Regions from separate parts of the Homo sapiens genome. Here regions 2 and 3 are each linked to region 1. Evidence: promoter capture Hi-C in 16 types of primary human blood cells and fetal thymus (Javierre and others, 2016). All regions are on one chromosome and are shown on one strand. The core of a region is centred on a gene start or on the middle of the fragment in contact, and the rest is flanking DNA. Distances in the headings are between cores, read along the strand shown.

Region 1 (3,111 bases), core at 314-2,813:
CCCAACCAAGGTCTGAGTAGGGGTCTGCTGTCCCAGTAGGGATCAGGGTGGGGAGGGGGCTCGTGGTCCCTGAAGTAGTCTGGAGTTCTCTGCAGGGGCCGGGAAGGGGGTCTGTGATCCCTGCAGGGTTGTTGGGGGCAGGGAAGTGGAGGGGTAGGTTTGGTGGGTGGTGTCTGTGGCCTGGCAGGAATTGGGGTGGGGTCTGTGGTCTCAGTAGGAACTGGGGTGTGGGGTCCGTGCTTGGGGCAGGTTCTGTGGTGTCAGCAGGAACTGGGGTGTGGGGTCCGTGCTTGGGGCAGGTTCTGTGGTGTCAGTACGAATTAGGGTGTGGGGTCCATGGTCCTTACAGCTGTTCAGAGTCCTCTGTGGGAGTCCTGGTCCATAATCCTGGCATGGCTCTGGGTGGTTGTCTGGGGTTCCCTATGGGGTCCAAGTCCTTGTGGTCCCTGCTGAGGTCTGCGTGGGGTTACATGATTCTGGCTAAGATGGGGAGGGTGGTTCCCGTGGTGGTCCTGGTCCCCTGCAGGGTCTGGGTAGGGGATCTGTGATCCCATGGTGGGGGTCCTGGCTGGGGCTTGAATGGGGTTCCATGGTCTTGGCTGGAGTGTGGGGTCTTGGAGAGGCAGTCCAGCTGGGGTCTGTAGTCCTGGGGGGCGTCCTGGCAGGGGTCTGTGGTCTTGTGGGGTGCTGGCTGGGGCCTGTGGTCCGGGGGGTGGTTGTGATGGAGGTGGAGGTCCTAGAAGGGGGCCCCAGTAGGGGTCTGTGATCCTGGAGAGGGGTCCTGGTGGTGGGGGTCCCAGTGGAGGTCTGTGGTCCTGGGGGGCCCTGGGAGGATCTGTGGTACTGGGGAGTCCTGGTGGAGGTCTGTAGTCCTGGTGGGGTTCTTGGTGGGGTGTCTGGGCGTGCCCCAGTGGGGGGGCCTGTGGTCTTGGGGGTCCCAGCAGGGGTCTGGGGTCCTGGGGGGTGTTCTTGGGAGGAGTCTATGGATCTGACTTGGGTGCTGGCTGGGGTCTGTAGTCCTGGGGGCGTCCTGGCTGGGGCTGTTGGTCTTGTGGTGGTGGGGATCCCTGCTGGGGTCTGCAGTCCTGCCGGGAGGGGGAAGGGTCCCTGCTGGGGTCTGTGGTCCTGGAGGAGGTGTGGAGGGTCCCTGCTGGGGTCTGTGGTCCTGGGGGGGATTCCTGGCTGGGGTCTGTGGTCCTGGCTGGGGGTGTGTGTGGGGGGTCCCTGCTGGGGTCTGTGGTCCTGAAGGGGGGGTCCTGACTGGGGTCAGTGGTCCTGGGGGCGTCCTGGCTGGGGTCTGTGGTCCTGGGGGGGGGGGTCCTGGCTGAAGTCTATGGTCCTTGCAGGGGGGGGTTCCTGGCTGGAGTCTGTGGTCCTGGGGGGGGTGTCCTGGCTGGGGTCGGTTGTCCGCTCGGGGTCCCCAGTCCTGCAGGCGGTGCGGGATCCCAGAGGGCCCGGGCGGGGTCTGGGGTTGGGGGTTCCCCGCAGGCCGGGGCGGTTCGGGGCGGGCAGGGGGCGGTCCGGGGCGCGCGCGTTTCCGCCGTCCGTCCGGGCGGGCGGGCGCAGAGTCCCGCGGGCGGCGCGGAAGCGGCGGCGGCGCGGCCGGGGCAGCCATGTCGCCATTGTCTGCGGCGCGGGCGGCCCTGCGGGTCTACGCGGTAGGCGCCGCGGTGATCCTGGCGCAGCTGCTGCGGCGCTGCCGCGGGGGCTTCCTGGAGCCAGGTCAGCGGGGCGGGGCAGGGGTCAGGGCTCCGGGGACCCGGGTGGGCGCGGGCTGGCTCGGGGGCGGGGGCGCGGGGGCTCCGCGTGACCTTGGCGAGGCGGTGGCGCTCCCGGAAGTGGGGCTGGGCGGGGGTCGAGGTGTGGCCGGGGGTGGGGGGGGGGCGGCGTGCGCGCTGGGACCTCCCCGCCCCGCGCTTTCCGTCCCCGCCGGCTCTTCTGCGCGCCTGGCCCGGCCCGACCCGGCCCGACCCTTCCCTCCCCGCGCGTGTGGCCTCCCCGCCTGTCCCGGGTCGGGCTCCAACCAAGCAGCCCCCGTGCAGCCGCCCCCCCGCGCACCCTGACACCTCCGGGCCATGGCCGGGGACCCGGGGGCTCGCACGCCCCGCGCCCAAGACATCAGGCGGCTCTGCCTGCCGCCTGCGGTCGGCCAGTGACCGCGCGCCCCCGCCAGGCCCCGGAGGGGAGGAGCGGGCGTCCCAGGGACCTCGACCCCTACCCACCCCAGGGTAAGTGAGGATGGGCCCTTCTCCGGAGGACGTCTCCAGAGGGGGCCCAGAGGCGGCTTCTCGGGCACTGGGGAGCCACGGAGGTCTGGTGGGGAGGGCAGGCCCGTTAAGTGGCAACTTTGTTTCCTTGGCCTTTGTAAACATCTCTGAGTCACAGATCTCCAACTTTGCAGGACTCGTTCACTGTCTGAACTCATCAGTGATGACCGCCACTGTGTTTTGTGTATGCAGATAACTTCTGTTCCTAGATTTGCAGGTTCAGAATTTATTATTATTATTATTTTTTGTAATAGGAAGTAGAGATGAAGTCTTGCTCTGTTGCCGAGGCTACTCTCGAACTCCTGGGCTCAAGCAGTCCTCCTGCCTCAGCCTCCCAAAGTGCTGGCATTACAGGCACCAGCTACTGCATCCGACTAATGTTTTAAAGTTTTGTAGACGGGGTCTTGCTATGTTGCTCAGGCTGGTCTCGAACTCCTGGGCTCAAGCGATCTTCCTTCCTTTGCCTCCCAAACTGTTGGGATTACAGGTGTGAGCCACCACACCTGTCTAATGTTTTAATTTTTTTGTGTAGCAATAGGGTCTTGCTACGTTGCCCAGGCTGGTCTGAAACTCATGGGCCGAAGCAATCCTCCTACCTGGGTCCCCCAAAGTGCTGGGTTTACAGGCGTGAGCCACCACGCCTGGCTAATGTTTTAAATTTTTTGTAGAGATGGCATCTCACCATGTTGCCCAGGCTGGTCTTGAACCCCTGGCCTGCAGCAATCCTCCAGTCTGGGCCTCCCAAACTGCTGGGATTACAGACAGAGCGCCACTGTGCCCAGCCCATATTCTCAATTTAAACCTAGAAACCTGTAAACAATTATTTGTGAACTGGAATAAAGGG
Region 2 (3,111 bases), core at 389-2,888, 290 kb after region 1:
GTGTGCGTCAACAAAGACTGGTGTGGGACTTTTAGCAGGAACATGTGCAGTCAGCAAAGGCTGGTGTGTGTCTTTTAGTGGGAATGTGTGCAGTCAACAAAGGCTGGTGTGTGGGGAACACATCACAGTCTAGATGTGTGTCTGGACGCCACCTTGATTTTGAGAGTGTCTGTCATGAACATGTGGTATCTCTCATCTTGGCTGTTAGGAGAAACTGTCATAGAAGGGACACGCCACATTTTCAAAGGCAGGACAGGTTGGGGGGCTGGACCGCAGACATCAGAACTGATCCCCAGATCACAGAAGGTGCATCATACCCATTTCTCCATTTGGGCTGGAACTGGGGAGGTAGCAAGTCTTGCATCAGGTGCCGTAGTTAAGCCATTGCGTCTCTATCTTTCCAACTCCTCATCTCCTCATTAGCAACGACCAGGCTAACAGCCGTCCCCTCTGCACCCAGTTTTGCTGAGAGCAAAGCAAGACTGATGCATTCTGTCAGAGCAGTGCTCAGAACTAAATAGATGCCAGCCATGGTTTGGTGGTGGGGCTCTGGTGTCATTTGTCATTGAAGCAGAAAACTCGGTTGAGGTTATGTTTTCTGCAGTTCGGGCGCCATTAACCCAGGCATCGGGGAGAATATCTGTACGTAGAAAAAAGCTTTGGAATTGTGGCCTCTGAAGCTGTCTTTGTGAAGCACCGTCTCGGATTCAGGAATAGACATTTTACTCATCATTGTGTTTATCGCTTACTTATCATTTTTAGTTACTGCTGTTTTATCCTCTTATAATTCTTTGCCTTCATTCTGGAATATGTTGTCTATTTTCTTGCCTCGACACATGCCATCTTTTTTTGTTTGTTTGTTTTCTTCCTTCTAATCGTAACAAATGTATTGTGAACTCATTTTTTTCCTGACCCCTGGGGCTGCATTTCATAGACTTAGAATGAAGTCGTTGTTTTCATTTTGCCTGATTTGACCAATGGATGAAGAGGGTATTTTAATATTTCCAAAGGTGTAGAATTAAAATTAGTGATTTTTTTTTGCCTTTTTATTTTTTATTTATTTATTTTTTTTGAGACAGAGCCTTGCTCTCTCCCTAAAGCTGGAGAGCAGTGGCACGATATCAGCTCACTGCAAGCTCCGCCTCTGGGTTCATGCCATTCTCCTGCCTCACCCTCCCGAGTAGTGGGGACTACAGGCACCTGCCACCATGCCCGGCTAATTTTTTTGTATTTTTAGTAGAGATGGGGTTTCACCGTGTTAGCCAGGATGGTCACGATCTCCTGGTTTTACAGACTTATGGTTTTATAGACTTATGTTTCTATAAATTGAAATTTCTATAAATTGAAATTTTAATCATGTTATGAAATGTAATGTATTTATCCTGTCTTTTGTAGAGAGAGTTCTGGAAATCTCTGTCACTCTCTGCTTTAGATATTTTGGGGCTGCAGTACTAGAGACCTACAGGTTCATGATTATACTGTCTTCTTGGTGTAATGCTTCTCTTATTAGTTTGTTATTTTATTATTATTACTGTAAAAGATTTAGCATCCCAGCTCCTTGGGAGGCTGAGGCAGGAGAATCGCATGAACCTGGGAGGTAGAGGTTGCGGTGGGCTGAGATCACACCACTGCACTCCAGCCTGGGCAACAAGAGCGAAACTCTGTCTCAAAAAAAAAAAAAATAGATTTAGCTTTGGTTCTTTGATGTTCTATCCTTAACTATCTTTTATCTGATATTTACCATCAGATAGTTCACAAATCCACTGACAATTAGATATTAACATCTTTTTATATCATCTCCTATTTTTAATTGACTACTGCTATCGACCGAACATTGGTGTCCTTCCAAATTCTTTTGTAGAAATTGTCACCCCCCCCCAAGGGGGTGGCGTTAGGAAGTGGAGGCTTTGGGAGGTGATGGTGTCATGAGGGTGGAGCCTAATGAGGGATGGAGCCTCATGCATGAGATTCCTGCCCTTATAAAAGGATGATGAGCTCAGAGTGAGCTCACTGTCCCACTGCCTTGTGAGCACACAGGAAAAAGGCAGCCAACTGTTCACAATAGCAAAGACTTGGAACCAACCGAAATGCCCATCAATGATAGACTGGATAAAGAAAATGTGGCACATATGCACTATGGAATACTATGCAGCCAGAAAAAAGAATGAGTTCATGTCCTTTGCAGGGACAGGGATGAAGCTGGAAACCATCATTCTCAGCAAACTAACACAAGAACAGAAAACCAAACACTGCATGTTCTCACTCATCAGTGGAAGTTGAACAATGAGAACACATGGACACAAGGAGGGGAACATCACACACCAGGGCCTGTCAGGGGGTGGGGGGATAGGGGAGGGAGAGCATTAGGAGAAATACCTAATGTAGATGACAGGTTGATGGGTGCAGCAAACCACCATGGCACGTGTATACCTACGTAACAAACCTGCACGTTCTGCACATGTACCCCAGAACTTAAAGTATAATAAAAAAAAAAATTAAAAACAAAGAAAAAGGAGGCCAAGAAGAGAGTTCTCACCAGGAACCAACCATACTGGCACCCTTGTCTCAGACCTCCAGCCTCCAGAAGTGGGATACAGGAATGTTAACAGTTTAAGCTTCCGACTCTATGGTGTTTTATCCCAGCAGCCTGAACTAACACATAAATTGTATGCAAAGATGTGTAAATTCACATGCAGTTGTAAGAGGTAGTACAGAGTCATCCCATGTACCTTTACCAACCTTCCTGCAATTAGAACATCTTGCAAAACTCCAGTAAATCGCTCAACCAGATACGGACATTGATACAATCTGACCTGCTTCTTCAGATTTTCTTTTCTTTTTTTTTTTCTTCAGATGGAGTCTCACTCCATCACCAAGCTGGAGTGTGGTGGCGAGATCTCGGCTCCCTGCAACCTCCGCTTCCCGGGTTCAAGCGATTCTCTTACCTCAGCCTGCTGAGTAGCTGGGACTACAGGTGAGCCCCACCATGCCAGGCTAATTTTCGTATTTTTAGTAGAGATGGGGTTTCACCATGTTGGCCAGGATGGTCTCGATCTCTTGACATCGTGATCCGCCTGCCTTGGCCTCCCAAAGTGCTGGGGAATACAGGCC
Region 3 (3,111 bases), core at 196-2,695, 260 kb after region 1:
AGTATCCAAGGAGAGCATTTGCTGTTTTTTTATTTTATTTAATTTATTTATTTTTTTTGAGACTGAGTCTTGCTCTGTTGCCCAGGCTGGAGTGCGTTGGCGCGATCTCAGCTCACTGCAAGCTCCGCCTCCCAGGTTCATGCCGTTCTCCTGCCTCAGCCTCCCGAGTAAATGGGACCACAGGTGCCCGCCACCACGTCTGGCTAATTTTTTTTTTATTTTTTATTTTTTTTTAGTAGAGACGGGGTTTCACCATGTTGGCCAGGATGGTCTTGATCTCCTGACCTCGTGATCCACCTGCCTCGGCCTCTCAAAGTGTTGGGATTACAGGCGTGAGCCACCACGCCCGGCCTCTTTTAAATTTTTTAGAGACCAGGTCTTGCTCTGTCACCCTGGCTGCTGTGCATTTTTTTTTTTTTTTGTAGAAACGGCATCTTGCTGTTCGCCCAGGTTGGTCTTGTGCGCTGGAATTATGACACAATCACTGGCTGCAACCTTGAAATCCTGGCCTCAAGTGATTCTCCCACCTCTGCCTCCCAAAGTGCTGGGATGACAGGCATGAGCCACCATGGCTGGCCTTGACATTATTTCTTTCTAAATATTTAACAAGCAAACTGCAACTTTAGCCACATGAATCATTCTTTAATCCTTTGATCATCATCTGCAAATTTGGATTAAAAATAACCACGGGGCATTGCTCGAGTGATACTGCCTTTATATAAGAGACAACATTGTGGAAACTTTAAAATTATAGAGCAGAAGAATATGCATTAGCCTGGAAATGAAATTAAAATAATGTAAGAATTTTAAAGAAAAGGCTATACAGCTGCAGTAGCTTGATGCTGTCTTTGTAATGATAATTCTGTATTGCTGTGTATGTATTATTTACTAGTGTGTATGCATGCATGCATGCATGCATTGTATATTAAGACTTGGAAGATCAGCTGGGTGCCGTGTCTCATGCCTGTAATCCCAGCACTTTGGGAGGCCAAGGTGAGTGGATTACTTGAGGTCAGGAGTTCGAGACCAGACTGTCAAACATGGTGAAACACCATCTCTATTAAAAAAAAAAAAAATTAGCCGAGTGTGGTGGCGCGTGTGTGTCATTCCAGCTACTCGGGAGGCTGAGGCAGGGGAATCGCTTGAACCTGGGAGGCGGAGGTTGCAGTAAGCCGAGATGGCGCCATTGCACTCCAGCCTGGGTGAAAAGAGTGAAACTCCGTCTCAAAAAAAAAAAAAAGAAAGAAGAAAAACCTTGCAGGATCTGTCCAGGGTCCCTGGGGAGAATCTGTGTGACATACATATCTCTGTGATGTTTCATATCATCTGAGGGCATGGTTGTATGTCACTCTGAAACCTCTATCCTCTGTCTCATCAGAACACATGGACTCGATTCCAAATTCACGGCCAGTAACCTGGGCGACCAGTCGGTACCAGAAGAAAAACTAGGAGGTTGATTGGTTTGTTTTTGAGATGGGGTCTCGCCCTGTCACCCAGGCTGGAGTGCAGTGGTACAATCACAGCTCACAGCAGCCTCGACCTGCTGGACTGAAACGATCACCCCACCTCCACCTCCCGAGTAGCTGGGACTACACGAATGCACCAGCATGCCTGGCTAATTTTTTAAAATTTTTTGGTAGAGCCGAGGTCTTGCTATGTTGTCCAGCCGGGTCTCCAGTTCCTAGCCCCAAGCGATCCTCCTGCTGTGGCCTCCCAAAGTGTTGGGATTATGATTTGTGCATTTATAAAGATGAGAGGTTTGATTTGTCCTGTATACAAATGCATCAGGCCATTCTTCATGCTGAGACATGCAGATGGTCTCAGCCTCCGTAGGAGAGTAGCTTAGTATTTCAGAGGGCATGTGTGCTCTTCAGACCTCTAGGAAGCTCCTCGCAGCTTCATCAGTGAAACTCAGTACCCCCTACAATGTATACCCCTCCTAGGGAGCAAATGAACGTGGCTATTACCTCTCTTCCCACCCCAGTTGTCTCAAGATCAATGGGTGTTACAAAAAAGAGCTATCGGCTGGGAGTGGTGGCTCATGCCTGTAATCCCAACACTTTGGGAGGCTGAGGGGGAGGATCATGTGAGGTTAGGAGTTCAAGACCAGCCTAACCAACATGGAGAAACCCAGTCTCTACTAAAAATACAGAAATTAGCCAGGCGTGGTGGCAGTCACCTGTAATCCCAGCTACTCAGGAGGCTGAGGCAGGAGAATCGCTTGAACCCGGGGGCGGAAATTGTGGTGAGCCCAGATCATGCCACTGCACTCCAGCCTGGACGACAAGAGCGAAACTCCATCTCAAAAAAAAAAAAAAATAGAAAGCTATTGTAAATGCTGAGTGTATCAGCTCCACCATTCAGGGCTCATGTCCAGCAAGTCCTGACCACTTTGAAATCATGTGATCAGGCCTGCCATCAAAATGAACAAATTTGCAGTGTAGACTGCGCCCACTTCACCATGAAGTAGACCACTCGTATCATTGCTTGTCTTAAGCATGTATTTGTATCCGCCATGCAGTCTAATGAAAGTCTGTCTTAGGGTTGATTGGAACTTGGATTGATGTGCCGAGAGGGTGACAGGTTAATTAATCAAATCAAGGATGCAGGTACTGGGAATTTTTTTATTTTTATTTTTTTTAAGATGGAACCTCTCTCTGTTGCCCAGGCTGGAGTGCAGTGGTGCGATCTCGGCTCACTGCAACCTCCGCCTCCTGGGTTCAAGCAATTCGGCCTCATCCTCCTGGGTAGCTGGGACCTCAGCTACCTCCCAGCACGCCTGGCTAATTTTTACATTTTCAGTAGAGACGGGGTTTCGATATGTTACTCAGGCTGATCTCGAACTCACAGTCTCGAGTGAGCCGCCTGCCTCGGCCTGCCGAAGTGCTGGGATTACAGGCATGAGACACCCTACCCAGCCCCCCCATTTCTTTTTTTTTTTTTATTAATAAACAAATCTAACCACCCTCTCTGGACCTTCTATTTCCCCTGGGGACTGTCCCTGACTACAGTCTCCGCTGCAGCAAATCCCCATACAGGAATTGCTCATACAATTCACTTCCAGTCCCCCATGCTCCACTGAAAATGCTCCAGGTGGCCGGGCGCAGTGGC

The links. The method cuts DNA at HindIII sites, captures the fragments that hold promoters and counts their contacts. A CHiCAGO score of 5 or more calls a contact.
Region 2: a fragment that was not itself captured here is called in contact with the fragment with the promoter of DHRSX in region 1 in 1 of 17 cell types (neutrophils); the score reaches 7.3 in neutrophils.
Region 3: a contact is called between a fragment that was not itself captured here and the fragment with the promoter of DHRSX in region 1, in 1 of 17 cell types (neutrophils). The highest score is 8.3, in neutrophils.

The regions. Positions count from the first base shown.
Region 1 is chrX:2,499,428-2,502,538 of GRCh38, reverse strand. It overlaps DHRSX (dehydrogenase/reductase X-linked), which reads left to right and starts at 1,563. Exons shown (of 7, transcript NM_145177.3): 1 at 1,563-1,722. The coding sequence starts at 1,614. It overlaps ZBED1 (zinc finger BED-type containing 1), which reads left to right and starts at 1,563. Exons shown (of 2, transcript NM_001171136.2): 1 at 1,563-1,722. The HindIII fragment of the contact is 4,150 bases long and covers 1-3,111 here.
Region 2 is chrX:2,207,931-2,211,041 of GRCh38, reverse strand. No RefSeq gene overlaps it. Among named protein-coding and RNA genes, the nearest start is that of DHRSX, 290 kb to the left of the region's middle. The HindIII fragment of the contact is 1,958 bases long and covers 660-2,617 here.
Region 3 is chrX:2,236,716-2,239,826 of GRCh38, reverse strand. The region is part of intron 6 of DHRSX (dehydrogenase/reductase X-linked); the gene reads left to right. Among named protein-coding and RNA genes, the nearest start is that of DHRSX, 260 kb to the left of the region's middle. The HindIII fragment of the contact is 4,297 bases long and covers 1-3,111 here.